Linked DNA regions of Homo sapiens: regions 2, 3, 4 and 5 are each linked to region 1. Evidence: promoter capture Hi-C in 16 types of primary human blood cells and fetal thymus (Javierre and others, 2016). All regions are on one chromosome and are shown on one strand. The core of a region is centred on a gene start or on the middle of the fragment in contact, and the rest is flanking DNA. Distances in the headings are between cores, read along the strand shown. Region 1 holds the start of FHOD3 (formin homology 2 domain containing 3). Region 2 overlaps RPRD1A (regulation of nuclear pre-mRNA domain containing 1A). Region 3 overlaps FHOD3 (formin homology 2 domain containing 3). Region 4 overlaps FHOD3 (formin homology 2 domain containing 3). Region 5 overlaps RPRD1A (regulation of nuclear pre-mRNA domain containing 1A).

Region 1 (2,730 bases), core at 78-2,577:
AGATTGGGGACGGCTAATCTAGAGGATTCATTCAAAGAGTTAAATAACAAAGAAAGTAGAGCTAGAAGTTCGTCTGGAAGGAGCGGAAGTGTCGTGGAATTATTATTTTAAGATCAGGCATAAGTGTGTATGTGTGGCAGGGAGGGAGATCACGGAGAGGGAGAGGTTAAAGATGTGGGTGAGGCTGCTAAATAGGGATAAGGGTTTCTTTTCCCTTGAAACCAGAGGAAAGGGAGATAGACGCGTTATAGAGTCGCCTTGAAAACACTCGGATGTTAAGAGAGACTGGGTGTTATGAGGGCGATCTATATAAGGGGGGAGGAACCAGGAACTTGGCTGTGGCCTGGGAATAGGGAGAACCGTGAATTTTTCTTGAAAACGAAGGGGGTCGCCCGTGAGCAGCGAGGAGAGCGGTGGGAGGCAGCGCCGAGTCTTGCCGCTCCCGCCTGGCAGGGGCGGGCAGGACGCAAACCTTCCTTCCCAGTCCCTCGGTTACCAGGGCATCCCCGGCTCTCTGCAATTCGGGAACCTTGCCAGAAGGGCTCCCACCTCCCCAAGCCCCCGCGGCCCCACAAGGTCCAATTAGGGCTTTCGGCGGCCTAACTGGGGAGAGGCCGTGGTGATGCAGAGGTTTAACCAGCATCCGCCGGGAGCCCCGGGGTCCAGGCCCGGCGCTGGAGTCCCGCAGCGAAGCCTCGCAGCCCCCACGCCTCTCGACTCTAGGCTTGTGCCCTAAAAGCGGCCTGGGTTCCCTGGCGCACCCTCCTCTTTCTTAGCTTCTTTGTCCCTAAGGGAAACCTCCCCGTACCCTTAGGTGGGGCTCCCGGTCACTGCCACCACCCCTCTTGCTGCCGAAGCCGGCTCCCTGGCCACCTGGTGCCCTGCCGGGGTATTCCAAATCTGGGCAGCAGAAGCCGGCCGCCGCCGCCTTCATCTGGAAAGGCTTAAGCCTTCTCCGGGTGGGGAAGAAGTCAGAAGGCCGCCTGTCTCCCCGTCCCCCAACCCCCCAACTCCCCAACTCGGTCCTCCAGGCTCCGAGGGGTGCAGCTCGGCCCTGGGCCGCGGGGCGCACGTGCAGCAGAGTCCGGCCGCCCGGCCTCCCCGCCCCGCCTCCGCCGCCGGCCTTTGGCGCAGGGCTGCGGATGCCGCGCGAGCCGTCTCCTTTGCACTTTCCCGGCTGCGGTCCGGTCGTTCGGGGCAGCCCGGCCGGGGGTAGAGGACCCGGAGGAGGGGAGGAGCCGGAGGGAGAGGGGAAGGAGGGGGCCCGCCGGCCCCGCCCCCGCCCCGCCCCCCGCGGCCGGAGCCCGGGCTGCAGCCCGGCGCGCCTGAGCCTGCGAGTCCGCGAGCCAGCGAGCTGCGGCTGCGGCCTCCCCTGCGCGCAGCTACCCGGGCGTCCCGGCCCGCGGCCCCGCTAACCCCGGGGCCCGCGCCCCCGCGGCAGGGATGCATCATGGCCACGCTGGCTTGCCGGGTGCAGTTCTTGGACGACACGGACCCTTTCAACAGCACCAACTTCCCCGAGCCCAGCCGGCCGCCGCTGTTCACGTTCCGCGAGGACCTCGCGCTCGGCACCCAGCTGGCGGGGGTCCATAGGCTGCTGCAGGCGCCGCACAAGGTACGACCCGGCGGGGTGGGCTGGGCCCCCTGGACTCAGCCCCCTGCCGCGGTGCGCGCCGGGGTGGGTCCCGGGGCTTCGTGGGCCCCCTGGGCTGGGCTGGGCGCGGCCCGGGGGGACCATCGCTCGAGGGCAAATCCCCCTCCCCGTTAGACAGAAGGGCTCGAGGCACCCGCTGGTTGGCGCAGGACCCTCCGGGGCGGGCGGGAAGGAACAGCTAGAGCCGGGGGCGGGCGTGGCAGAGCAGGTGCCGAGCCGGTCCGAGGCGGGATGGAGAAGGCTCCCCCGAGCCGCGCCGTTAGCTCGGCCGGGTGGGCGGGGTGGGGCTAGGACGCGGGCAGTCGGCCTCGGCACTCGGGCGGGCACCAAGCGGGGCGCGGGAAGAAGCGGAGCGCCGCGAGACTCAGGTCCCTTGGAGAGGAGAGCTCTGAGCGACGGCCGGGACAAAACCTCCCTCAGGCCTCTGGGGCCGCTGCGGGCGGCCACGCGACCCTCGCGACAAAGCACGCTTCCCGGCGACACCGCCTCCTCCTTCCCCCGGGGGCGCCGCCGGGGACGCCGGCCGCACACTGCGATAGCGCTCAGGGTATCCCCCTTTTCTTCTGAGAAGCAGGTGGCCTTGGGAACCTCGGAGGAGCAGTCGCTGTGGGAGGAGGGGCGGGGGCGCGGAGGGGCGGCGCGCTCACAAAGCCTCAGCTTGGCAGCCCGAAATGAGTGTCCCCTGGGAAGAATGGCTGCTCAGTCTACCCGTTAGAGAGGTTTTTTTTTTTTTATTTGTTATTTTTATTTAAATAAAACCTTTTGCAGGAGGATAGGCCTCTTGCAAAGCATTTGTTGCAAAGAGGTGGGTATTGAAAGCTAATCATTTCGTTACCTAGGAAAACCCTTACTCTCACTTAGACAGATTGAATGCAGCTTGCAAAATTACCTTCCCAGTATTTTTTCTGCCTAGGATTCATATCAAAGCTTGGAGATGATTTATTTCTTGAGGGTCGACATTAACACATATTTGGAAGAGATAAGCGTTGATGCCCAAAAGAACAAAATTGATTTAAAAAAAAACCTCGGATTTCTGTATGATGTTGACCTGCTTTGCAAGTAGAGGAGGAGGTTGG
Region 2 (2,730 bases), core at 168-2,667, 300 kb before region 1:
TTTTCAGAACCCCAGAAATTTTCCTCATACCACCTCTCCCAATTTTTAATCACTATTTTCCAAACTTCAATTAGTTAACTACCATCCTTCATAACGTTCTTTACCATGACTCCCTTACACTGTTATTTACATAATATTTAAATCAACTCATTTTTTAACATCTTCATTCTAAGAAATAATATCCATGCAATCACAGGTTGGTTGTGCTCATTTTCGTTTTGATTCACACATCAAAATAAACGTAACTAGGGCTGGGCGCAGTGGCTCACGCCTGTAATCCCAGCACTTCGGGAGGCCAAGGCGGGCGGATCACCTGAGGTCACGAGTTCAAGACCAGCCTGGCCAACATGGTGAAACCCTGTTTCTACTAAAAATACAAAAATTAGCTGGGTGTGGTGGCGGCACCTGTAATCCCAGCTACTTGGGAGGCTGAGGCAGGAGAACAACTTGAACCTGGGACAGAGGTTACAGTGAGCTGAGATTGCACCGTTGCACTCAAGCATGGGCAACAAGAATGAAACTGTCTCAAAAACTAAAAAAAAAAATGTAACTATTAAAATAAATGTTCTCAGGTGGCACCATGGCATGGGTGCATTTGGGAACCAATGCTTTACCTCATTCTTCTTACTCTGTTGACCGAAGCCACTTTACTTCTTCTCCTCCGTTTTCCTCATTCAACAAGGCCCACCTTTCTGTCCTTAATTTACCCTTTACTTGCCACAAGTATCACCACTACCACCCTAAAGCTTGTTATCACCTCAGTCATGAGCAACCCTCATGTCAGTTTCTGCAGTTCCAGCTTCATACCAAGGCTCAATTCCACTGATCATATCCAAGCCCCTCCAGTCTTCCAAAATTTTGCCCATCTGTCATAATCCAGGCAAATTTTCACTTTGCCTAAAACTCTTCCCCTGTTCTTAGCATCCTTACTCTAGGCTCCTAGCTGAAACTATCTCTGCGCTGTTTGGTTGTAATCCATGTTAAGTCTGTCTTGTCTTTCCAAGGGCAGAAGCCTTCTTTACACTGCTATAATACTTCAACACTAGTGAACTAGGAGGTGTGACTTGCCTTGTGTGCACTGCAAGTGGGCTACAGCTTCTTGAAATCTGAACCACCATTACAGATTTCTTTACAGCTAATACTAAGTATATATTGAGGATCCAAATTTTATATATTTTTCAAGTCCTACATTAAGACCAAACACTGCAATAGAATCTTTTCTGACTCTGGCCTCAAGCTAACTTCCTATGATATACTACTATACAAGTTATTTCTGAATTACTACTGGATTGTTTTCTAATTTCATACCCATAATTAGAAAACACACTTTCTATATATCTACATTACTTGCAGTGTCCAGCAGGGGACTGAGTATTAACAGTACGCCCCAGTCAACACTCCATGAAGTCAGATCTGGATGGAGTACTGTTTCCTCAATCTACTTCCTATGTAAACCTGGACAAGGGCTCCTGAAGGTTATCTAATTAAGTCTCAGATGCCTCCTTCATAAAATAAGGGTACTATTTTACAGTGCTGTGTGGCCAAATTATGTGGAAGTTTTCAAATTAGGAAGTGCTATATAATTGTGGTTATCATTCTGAGATGATATCAGAATCACCTTGCAGTAAGAACATCTAAGAGAATAAATTTCCTGAAATTTGGAATTCTTGTTCATTTTAGGGCTGACCCTGTTATGTTCTAAAATTCTAGTTGCTTTAAATACATAATATTTCTGAAATTAAAATATTTACATGGCTGCCTTTTTCTTGCAGATGCTGCTAATAATTCATTTTATCTTTCCTACATAATTGTGACAAAAAAAAAAGAGAGAATTTCAACCACATCCATATGGGGATCTTTAGTGGTCAATTAAAGGCTTTGGTCAATTCTAAGCATCATACTTACTGTATTGCAGACCTATGGCTTCCTACCCATTTCTTGATAAAAACAGCAGAATTTGTAGAGAAAAAAGGTGCAAAGTTTGTTTTCTCTGGTGACCTCATTTATCTGTAGTATAATGTCCTTTGCCTCTTTTAAGAAGTTAACATACAAGTATTTCTTAAGCCACTGCCTTCAATAGAACTATTAAGAAGCTTCAGTTCTCATTATTAGGATCCATCACCATTTACTTTTACTTCATTTTTCATGTCCTGGAATTGGGCCCTTTTCTAGATTAGAGGAAAAAATTAACTGAAGTATTAATCAAGATATAACACACACACACCCATTTTCTTTTTTTAATAAGGCCAAGACATTCCATGATGTCAGGGCGTTTCTGAGACTGCAGATTAGTCAAGTCTGTTACCATCCCCAGGGGACAGACTGCAAAGGAAATAAAGATCTCAGTGGTTTGCCCTCACCTTCTGGGAAACAAATGCTCAAATTTGGCTTGGTATCTAATCCTGGAATTGACAATTTTAAAAATATAAACTCCAATATAGCCAATCCTTTCTCATTTCTTTTCACAGGTTATCCTATACATCTCAGATGGAGCTGTCATTTTTTCCCCCTTGACTGCAGAAGTTTTACCTTTTGGTGGGAATTACTTTAATGTAAGTAAGTATCATCTAACGAACTGTCTCACTTCCTTTAGTTCCTTCTCTTAAGAAATCCACTATTGCAGAGTTTCATTAATCTTCCAGATTGTTAACAACATGTGGAAAAAGATATTTTATCAAGTTTTCTGCAAGGAACCCAATGCCTGTCAACTAGGTTTTGAAAAACCGGTAA
Region 3 (2,730 bases), core at 62-2,561, 280 kb after region 1:
AGGAAGCAGATCTATTCCGTCACTTCAGGTGCGCCGAAAGCTGGGCAAGCCTCTGGCATAGTCTTCTCTGGTTTCTGCCGGGGTGTGGAGGAGCATGTGTTAGGGACCTGACTGCAGGGGGATTTGGGAGAAGTAGTGAAAGGGACCCTGTCCTGAGCAGGTGCACATGCACCAAGGTTAAAGTGCTGTACGGGTGGCACGTTATGGAGATCAGAGTGGCTGTAGTGGGCAACATGGTCAGATGGAGTGGGGGATCTTGAGGGCCTGGATACAGAATTTGAACCTGAATTAAACAGGTCACAGAATCAGCATAGCTTTGTAGGGTCCCTGAAAAGCATATTGGATTAATCTGTTCTCACACCGCTAATAAAGACATACCTGAGACTGGGTAATTTATAAAGGAAAGAGGTTTAATGGACTCACAGTTCCACATGGCTGGGGAGGCCTCAAAATCATGGCGGAAGGCGGAGGAGGAGCAAAGGCACATCTTACATGGTGGCAGGCAAGAGAGTGTGTGCAGGGGAGCCACCCTTTATAAAACCATCAGATCTCAGAAGACTTATTCACTATCATGAGAAAAGCATGGGAAAAACCCACCCTCATGATTCACTTACCTCCCACTGGGTCCCTCCCATGACATGTGGGAATTATTACAATTCAAGGTGAGATTTGGGTGGGGACAGAGAACCAAACCATATCACATGTGGTCTGCCCAGACTGTCCCCCATCCCTGTGTTCACTGCCCACCCCCACTAGAGTGAGCCTTTCCAGGCTGCTGTTCACAGTGCTGTGCTCTGCTGGGGAGTCCATCCCCTGGCCCTACCCCTGGAGTCACCTGCCTCCCAAGGATTCTGCTGTCCTTTGGGAGCACTCAGCCCTGGTTTGATTTGGGGAGGAGTATGGTTCTAGTTTTAGGCTGTATCTCCTTCTCAGGCTTCTCAGAATCCTGGTGATTGTGTCCTTGTGTGGTTGGAAGGGCTTTTTCTCTGTGGCTGGCACTGGCATGCGAATCCCCATGGGGTCCCATATCCGTGGGTGACCCTCACATCTTGCCCTCAGGTTTTCTTTTTCTAGTACTTATTGATGAGAGAATTTTTCCCCATTTCAGATTAGAAACAGCTATGCTTTCCCTCAGAAGATTGAAAATCTTTAAAAAAAAATGTTTGGCTTTGTTTTCTATGGAAAATGGAAGTGACTCTGTTTTGAAACTGATGTAGGTGACCTTGGACACTGAGTGAAATGCTGGGCTTTCTAGGTTGCATCAGCCAGACCGAGGGAAGATTTATATCTCATATCCTGTTTCAGTTTTTTCTCCTTTTTCCTTGCTTGTGCTGGGAAGCCTCCCTAACTTTCATGTTCATTTGGAACCTGCTCCCTCCCCAAGGCACTCTGAATGGTCTCAAGGACATAAAAGCTAGGGAGATGGGAAGAGATTTTGCAAGAAAGATTGACTTTTTGTACATGACACAGCTGAATTAAGATATCTTTATGGTTTTATGATGGCCATGATAAAACACCAACAACTTGCCCTATTTCTAAAAGGAAATAAAACCTAACATGCTTACAATAGAAAAACTGACAGTCTGTTAGCTCATCACCAGACAGAGAATAGAGTGAGGGCAAGGTTAGGGAAGGTGGGATGGGTATGGGGAAGAATCACTGTGAGCAGGGAGAGATTACATAGAGAATGCTGTGGTCTGAATGTGCCTCCCTAAATTTTTGTGGTGTAAACGTGATCCCCAATGCAACAGTGTCAAGAGGTGTTTAGGTCATGAAAGCTCTGCTGTCATGAATGGATTAATGCCATTATAAGAAGGATTTGTGGAAGGAGTGCATTTGCTCTCTTTTGATTCTCTGCCATGTGAGGGCACAACCTTCCTGCCCTCCAGAAGATACAGCAACAGGCACCATCTTGGATGCAGAGAGACTGGGCCCTCACAGTCAGTGCCTTGATCTGGGACTTCCCAGCCTCCAGAACTGTGAGAAATAAATTTCTGTTCTTCATAAATTACCCAGTCTCAGGTATTTCTCTTTATAGCAGCAAAAATAGACTAAGAGAGGAAAGGCACAAAGAAAAGAAGAGGGAGAGATAGAAAAGAGGGAGGAGAAGGACCACGGAGGAGGAAAAGAAGAAGAGCAGCAGAGAAAAAAAAAAACAGAAATAACAGAAATGCATGCCATGGCTCAGAGTCTCTGATGTGGCAACAGCATCATATTGATATTACTTTGGAATCATTCTGTAAGGAAAATAAACAATCAGGAAAGAATAAACACACAGGAAAATCTTTATTGCATTTCTAAATAACATGGAAAAATTATAAAATTAAAAAGTTTCAAAAATACATTTGTAGGAATTGTGCTTTCCCAGCCTCCCCATCCTACACGGTGCACTCGGTGTGTGCTTCCTCAGTGGTGGTTCAGGACTCTGGGCTGCCTCTTCAGGGCCTCTGTCTAAGGTGGCACACTCGCCTCCTCCCTAGCCATTTGGGCCGTCAGCACTGGATCTGTGTGGATTTCTGTCTTCATCTTTTATTTTCCCAAAGGCAGGTCTAGAATAGTCTCTGGCTCCTGTGTTCTGCACTGTGCTGGTCATAATGAGGACAAGAGAGTGGAGCCAAGAGTCAGCCTGTGCCTTGGAGTTCACTGTGTTGTTGGAAAGGAGAATTCTGGGGAACAGTGATGCCACAGCCCATCCCACTAACTGTGATGTCACATGAAGGTCTCCTGCCC
Region 4 (2,730 bases), core at 81-2,580, 260 kb after region 1:
ACAGTTTCTAAGATTTTCAACATTTAAAACACTAATACTAAATGTATTAAAAATATGTTAAAATAGTCCATGGTGTGTCATCATTGGAACTTTATAAAAGTATACACATTCTTATGAACTAAAAACTCAAAGAGAACGGGCTGCCTTCATGTCAGTGGTGTCACTGCTGAGTTGCAGTGCTTCCCGCCTGCACTCATACCCACATTCAGACCCCTGTGCTCTGCTCAGTGCTCAGCCCTCAGCCCTGCCTCCTCTGACAAGCTATTCTATTGTCACCAGTGTTTTCACAGGACAGGAAGAATCACCTGGCTACAACCAACTCGGTCATCTTCACCTATTGTAGTATCTTCTCTCTCCTGACGTTCTCCTTAGACCACTGTCAACCATCACTTACTCCTGGTCTTTGACAGTATCCTTGAGTTGGATTCTTTGGGGGCTTATTCAGGTTTTCAGGGCGGGATGATGTTGAAAAGCCCAAAAGATTTCAAAACTGTCCAGCGTTTGATCACCTTGCTATTGAAAGACGACCCACAACTGACTACTCAGTAGTGTTGTTTGTCCTCCCAGAGTCCTCTCTGCGGCTGCTTCTCTTGGCTCAGCAGAAAGAAGAATGAGTTAAAGATGAACTGAGCAGCGGGACCGGTGACATCAGTCCTCCTCCACTCAGAAGGAAGCTGTTAAAATAGGACGAGCTGACTTTGCCCTTTCCTCCTTTCTGAATAATAGGCTTCATTTGCATGTGATTATTGTTTACTAATTACCTACCATTCACCTACAGCCCCCACCAATACTACTTCTTCCATACCCCTCTGCACTACATTTTAGCATCTTGCTTGGGCAGGACACACAAGCCATTTAAACAGCTGCACAGTGATTGTTTTTCCCTCCTTGTGTAAGGTTTGTGCCTCCCTGAGGATATGTCTATTTTGGTTTTCATCATTATCATATCCTGACCTGAGAGAGAGTGATGAAATCAGCTTAGATAGAGCCCGTGGCCTTAAGTGATTGCTGTTAAAATAACTTCCCTGTGCAAGTTGTATAAAAATACAGGGCCATGAGAACACATTGCTAGGGCCCCTCCCAAGGTCTGGGAAGGGGCCTGTTTGAATGAGGGACTCTGAAACATAAGCTTTGTTAGCCCCCCGGTCCCACAGCATGAATTATGTTAACTGCCACTCTTGACCCTTACCTTTCTCTGTGGCAGGTATCCATTGGGAAAGACAGTTGCAGCAAGCTGAGAGAGGCATACTTTTGGAAAGTGAATTCTTTCTAGGATCCCTGAAATCAAACTCCACATGCAGCAGACTTTTTTACATGCTTGCTTGTCCAAATTTTCAGGAACCGTCCTTGGGCACCCAGAGTGAGTGAATGAGTGTGTACCCCTTGTTGGGTAGATGAATTAGCATAAAAAACAGGGTTACACCTTGCCTAAGTTCGTCCTTTGACTTAGAAAGCTGTTCACTGCTGCTCCTTTCTGTCTGAGGGTAGTTAGTCTGGGCCTTGCATCTAACCTGCTGGAGCCCATTCTCAAGCAAGCTTATACTAAAGCCAGAGCTTCCCCAAAACATAGTTGCGAGACCTTGGAATGAGGACTGTTGAGGATGTTGATAAACAGTTTCCACTGGTGAAATTTAAGTACCAGAGGTCAAATCACTTGTACAACATTGCTTGTTTGGCAAGAGGCAGTAGGGATGGCCTCAAACACAAGTTTCTTTGGCTTTAGAGCCTGCACTTGCCACTACTTGCCTGGCCTACCTCCCATGTCTTCCCTTCAAAGCTCTTGTGGAGTAACGGGTCTGATCATTCTCCATTCCTGACCATTGCAGTGCTCTGTCCATTTGGCCAAGGGGATTCCTGCCAGATGGGCCTAGCAGAGTGCCTGGTGCTTAACAAATGCTGCAACTGTTTGCATGAGTGGGTGTGTATGTCAGTCTTTAGAAAAGCTAAGAGAGTTTGGGCCAAAAGGAGGGTAACACCTCTCATAGATCGCCACAGTTTGGGTTGAAAGACTGGAGAGAGGCTGCAGCACAGCCTTGCAGTAGTTTTTCATTAAAACTTTCTTCTATAGCTTTGTGTGTGTGTGTAAAGAGCAGCTGTTTTTTTTTTTTTCTGTTTTTTTTTTTTGTTTCTTTGTTTAAGGAAATATTTAATTATAGTGTATAAAGCAGTGTTTGTCAACCTTCTGTTCAGAATCATCCCCCTAAGGTGCCTTTTCATATATTTTTTTCTGAATCACCCCCATACCCCAACCCTCATGAAATTTAAATTCCGCAGACATTCTGTTTATGTATTCTTCCCCTGTGGAGGGCTGTACACATTTGTGATATCTAAGATGTTTTTGTTCCCAAGAATCAAATTTCATGTTTCTAGCTCCTATTAAGAATTTATGGTCTGAAGTATTTATTCCATTTCAGTAGCTGATAACATGAGAAATGCTTATATAATTACAGAAATGAAAGCAAAATACTAGTCATTGATTGACAGCCAGTAATTACTATAAGGATGGCAAAACAATTCTGTTCTAATGAACACGTAATTACAGCTGCTGGGGAATAGCTATTAAATAAATGGAATCTAATGTGTTGGCCCAGGAGACAGGATGGGTGGCGGTGAGGTCTGGGGACACTCAGCCTTGTCACATGGGTCAGCTCCATAGGGCTGGGCTAGTCTCATACCTGTTTGTGCACAAGGAACCACCTCCCAGGACTGTTAGAGCACACGTCCAAGTCA
Region 5 (2,730 bases), core at 78-2,577, 270 kb before region 1:
AGATCAAGGTAAGAGATCAGGATTCTACACTTACACAGAGCTTGTTTAAGTTGTTCTAATACATCATTTTCATAAACAGACCTTTCTTCCCAAATAGATAACACTCTTCCAAGGTGCTTCTTACAACTTTCATCAGTTTCACTAAAAAAAAAAAAAAAGAAAAAAAGAAAAATGTTAACAGTAACAATGCATAGTGTTATTGAAAAGGTTAACGGTAACTTTAAATATAATCAGACATTCATTCCCTGGAAAAAACTGTCCAAATGTCTACTTAGCATCACTATGTGGCCAGCAGCTCAAAAGTGAAGTGATCTAGACACACTGCTTGCTTCTAGTAAACATTTTATAAACATATTATTACACAACCAAAAAAAGTTTAAACTGTAAAAGTTTTAGTACTGGCTGCTAGGGATTTCCTATCCTAATGGGGCCTGGACATGGGGCTAAGGAAGATTTCTCATAGGTTATTTTTTTAAATTTATTCAACAAATACTTATTGATCCAGTTACTATCTTTGACATGGAGATGCAAATGCAGCTTATGGCAGTTGTTATTTATAAGTATCACAAAAGAGAACAAAGTGCTTAAGACAGACCTGGCCCTGTTTAAGAGATATCCGGAAGAGTATTTAAGGAAATGATATTTAATTTGAGATCTTAAGACTAGACATATGGGGAAATGAAAAACAGACTACTCCCAACTGTTTCCTACCTCCTTCATTGCTATCACTGTAGACAGAAACACTACTATCTCTTGCTTAGAATTTTGTAAAGTCTTCTCACGCTCTCCCAGCCTCTACTCTTTTACTCTATTCTGTACAAAGCATCCTAATAATGTAAATCAGATTATACAGCTCTTGATCCTCCAAGAGCTACCAATCACATCAAGAATAAAACCAAAATCCTTACTCTGGGCCATAAGGCCCACATGCTCTGCTTTCTGGCAGTCCCTCAGTACACACTCCCTAATACCTAGTACCATACAAATCTCCTTGCTAAGGTCCTCAAACATGTCCAGCATATAAGCTATCTCATTTTTTCGGCCACATATTCTCTCTACCTAGAATCCTTTCTGCCTAGTCAAATGGCTCATTTCACCCCTTCCTTTAGTCTTTGTTCAAATGCCACCTTCCCCAAATAGTTGTTCTTTATCTCATCACATAACTGAGCGCCCTCATACTATCTAGTTCCTTCCCTGCTTTGTATTTCTTGCTAGCATTTGTCATCTGACATTATGCATTCACTTGTCTATCTACTTATTAACTTTGTCATCCAATGAAATGTAGGCTCCAGTAGAACAAAACTGTCTTGGTCACTACTACTCAGGGTTTTGCATATAATAAATATTTATGCAGCCAATAAATATTTTACTGAATTCTAGGGAGGGGCAACATATATAGAAGACTTAAGGCGGAAAGAACTAAAAAAGGTTAATTTAGCTTAAACTGTAGACTATAGACTGTGTGGAATAAATGCGAGACAGAGGTCTGGGGAGATAGGCAGTGCCACGAAGGAACACCTTAAGTCTTGCTCAGGACTTTAGACTTCATCTCTAAAACAAATGGGAACCACTCAAAGGCAAGGAAGTATTATGACCAGCTCTGCAACTCTGTCGAGTTTTCTAAAGAAATTAAACAATACTAAAGGGCATTAAAATTATACTGAAAATACATTATGGTAACTAAAAGGGAAAGAAATCCAAAGAACCGAGTCAATGTGTACTATGTGAGATATGGGGACTGAAGGAGAAAGAAGAGTTTAAAGGTAACATAATTTCTTGCATAGGCACCTGGATAGATCGAGTTGCCATTCACAGAGTATAAAACCTACAGGAGGGACAAGTACGGTGGGAAGCAAGGACATAATGAGTTCTGTATCAGACACAGTGAGTCTGAAATGTTTGAGACGCATACAAGTAAAAATGTCAAAAGGCAATTGGGCACACAGGTTTGGAACAAAAAAAAATCTGGACTGGAGCATAAAACTGTAAGTCATTACGGTGTGGAGAATAACCAAATACATGCGATGTACAAAATTACCCAGAGGGCAAGTAAAGAATGGAAACAGGCCAGACATGGTGGCTCACGTTTGTAATCCCAGCACTTTGGGAGGCCGAGGCAGGTGGATCACGAGGTCAGGAGTTCAAGACCAGCCTGGCCAAGATGGTGAAACCTTGTCTCTACTAAAAACACAAAAATTAGCCAGGCATGGTGGCAGGCACCTGTAATTCCAGCTACTTGCGAGGCTGAAGTAGGAGAATCGCTTGAACCCAAGCGGCAGAGGTTGCAGTGAGCCAAGATCGCACCACTGTACTCCAGCCTGGGTGAGAGTGAGACTCTGTCTCAAAAAAAAAAAAAAAAAAAAAAAAAAGAATAGAAACAGTACTAAGTGTATATGGAAATATTTGTTACAAGACTGATAGCTTTATAAACACACAAATTTTTACTTCAATACCTTCATTCATTTTTAATGAAGTTCATTCCAATATAGCAGTTGGTTCTGGTCTCTTAAAGGAAAGCTGTAATTCAAGTACTCCAAAGGCCCACCTTAGCAACAGTTCAAAAAATATTTTTCCTTCAGAGAAGGCATTTAATACATTTATAAATGCCATGTAGAGGGAAGTCTTTTCAAATAAAAGCATCAAAAAACTATATTCCCTACTTTTTATTTTAATAGTTTAAGGCAAATTTTAGCAAAAGGACATATGGTACATTTAAAACAGATTACCTAA

Evidence for each region. The method cuts DNA at HindIII sites, captures the fragments that hold promoters and counts their contacts. A CHiCAGO score of 5 or more calls a contact.
Region 2: a contact is called between a fragment that was not itself captured here and the fragment with the promoter of FHOD3 in region 1, in 4 of 17 cell types (total CD8 T cells, activated CD4 T cells, monocytes and 1 more). The highest score is 7.0, in total CD8 T cells.
Region 3: a fragment that was not itself captured here is called in contact with the fragment with the promoter of FHOD3 in region 1 in 1 of 17 cell types (megakaryocytes); the score reaches 6.1 in megakaryocytes.
Region 4: a fragment that was not itself captured here is called in contact with the fragment with the promoter of FHOD3 in region 1 in 1 of 17 cell types (megakaryocytes); the score reaches 5.6 in megakaryocytes.
Region 5: a fragment that was not itself captured here is called in contact with the fragment with the promoter of FHOD3 in region 1 in 5 of 17 cell types (naive CD8 T cells, total CD8 T cells, endothelial precursors and 2 more); the score reaches 5.9 in naive CD8 T cells.

The regions. Positions count from the first base shown.
Region 1 is chr18:36,296,386-36,299,115 of GRCh38, forward strand. It overlaps FHOD3 (formin homology 2 domain containing 3), which reads left to right and starts at 1,328. Exons shown (of 29, transcript NM_001281740.3): 1 at 1,328-1,615. The coding sequence starts at 1,451. RefSeq lists an enhancer at 174-1,151 and silencers at 1,091-1,380, 1,501-1,570. The HindIII fragment of the contact is 3,286 bases long and covers 1-2,579 here.
Region 2 is chr18:35,997,828-36,000,557 of GRCh38, forward strand. The region is part of intron 6 of RPRD1A (regulation of nuclear pre-mRNA domain containing 1A); the gene reads right to left. Among named protein-coding and RNA genes, the nearest start is that of RMP24, 27 kb to the left of the region's middle. The HindIII fragment of the contact is 1,347 bases long and covers 745-2,091 here.
Region 3 is chr18:36,577,799-36,580,528 of GRCh38, forward strand. All of the region lies in intron 6 of FHOD3 (formin homology 2 domain containing 3), which reads left to right. Among named protein-coding and RNA genes, the nearest start is that of TPGS2, 250 kb to the right of the region's middle. The HindIII fragment of the contact is 4,705 bases long and covers 1-2,730 here.
Region 4 is chr18:36,558,731-36,561,460 of GRCh38, forward strand. All of the region lies in intron 5 of FHOD3 (formin homology 2 domain containing 3), which reads left to right. Among named protein-coding and RNA genes, the nearest start is that of FHOD3, 260 kb to the left of the region's middle. The HindIII fragment of the contact is 407 bases long and covers 1,128-1,534 here.
Region 5 is chr18:36,030,957-36,033,686 of GRCh38, forward strand. RPRD1A (regulation of nuclear pre-mRNA domain containing 1A) reads right to left here. Exons shown (of 7, transcript NM_018170.5): 3 at 35-141. Among named protein-coding and RNA genes, the nearest start is that of RPRD1A, 35 kb to the right of the region's middle. The HindIII fragment of the contact is 3,070 bases long and covers 1-2,730 here.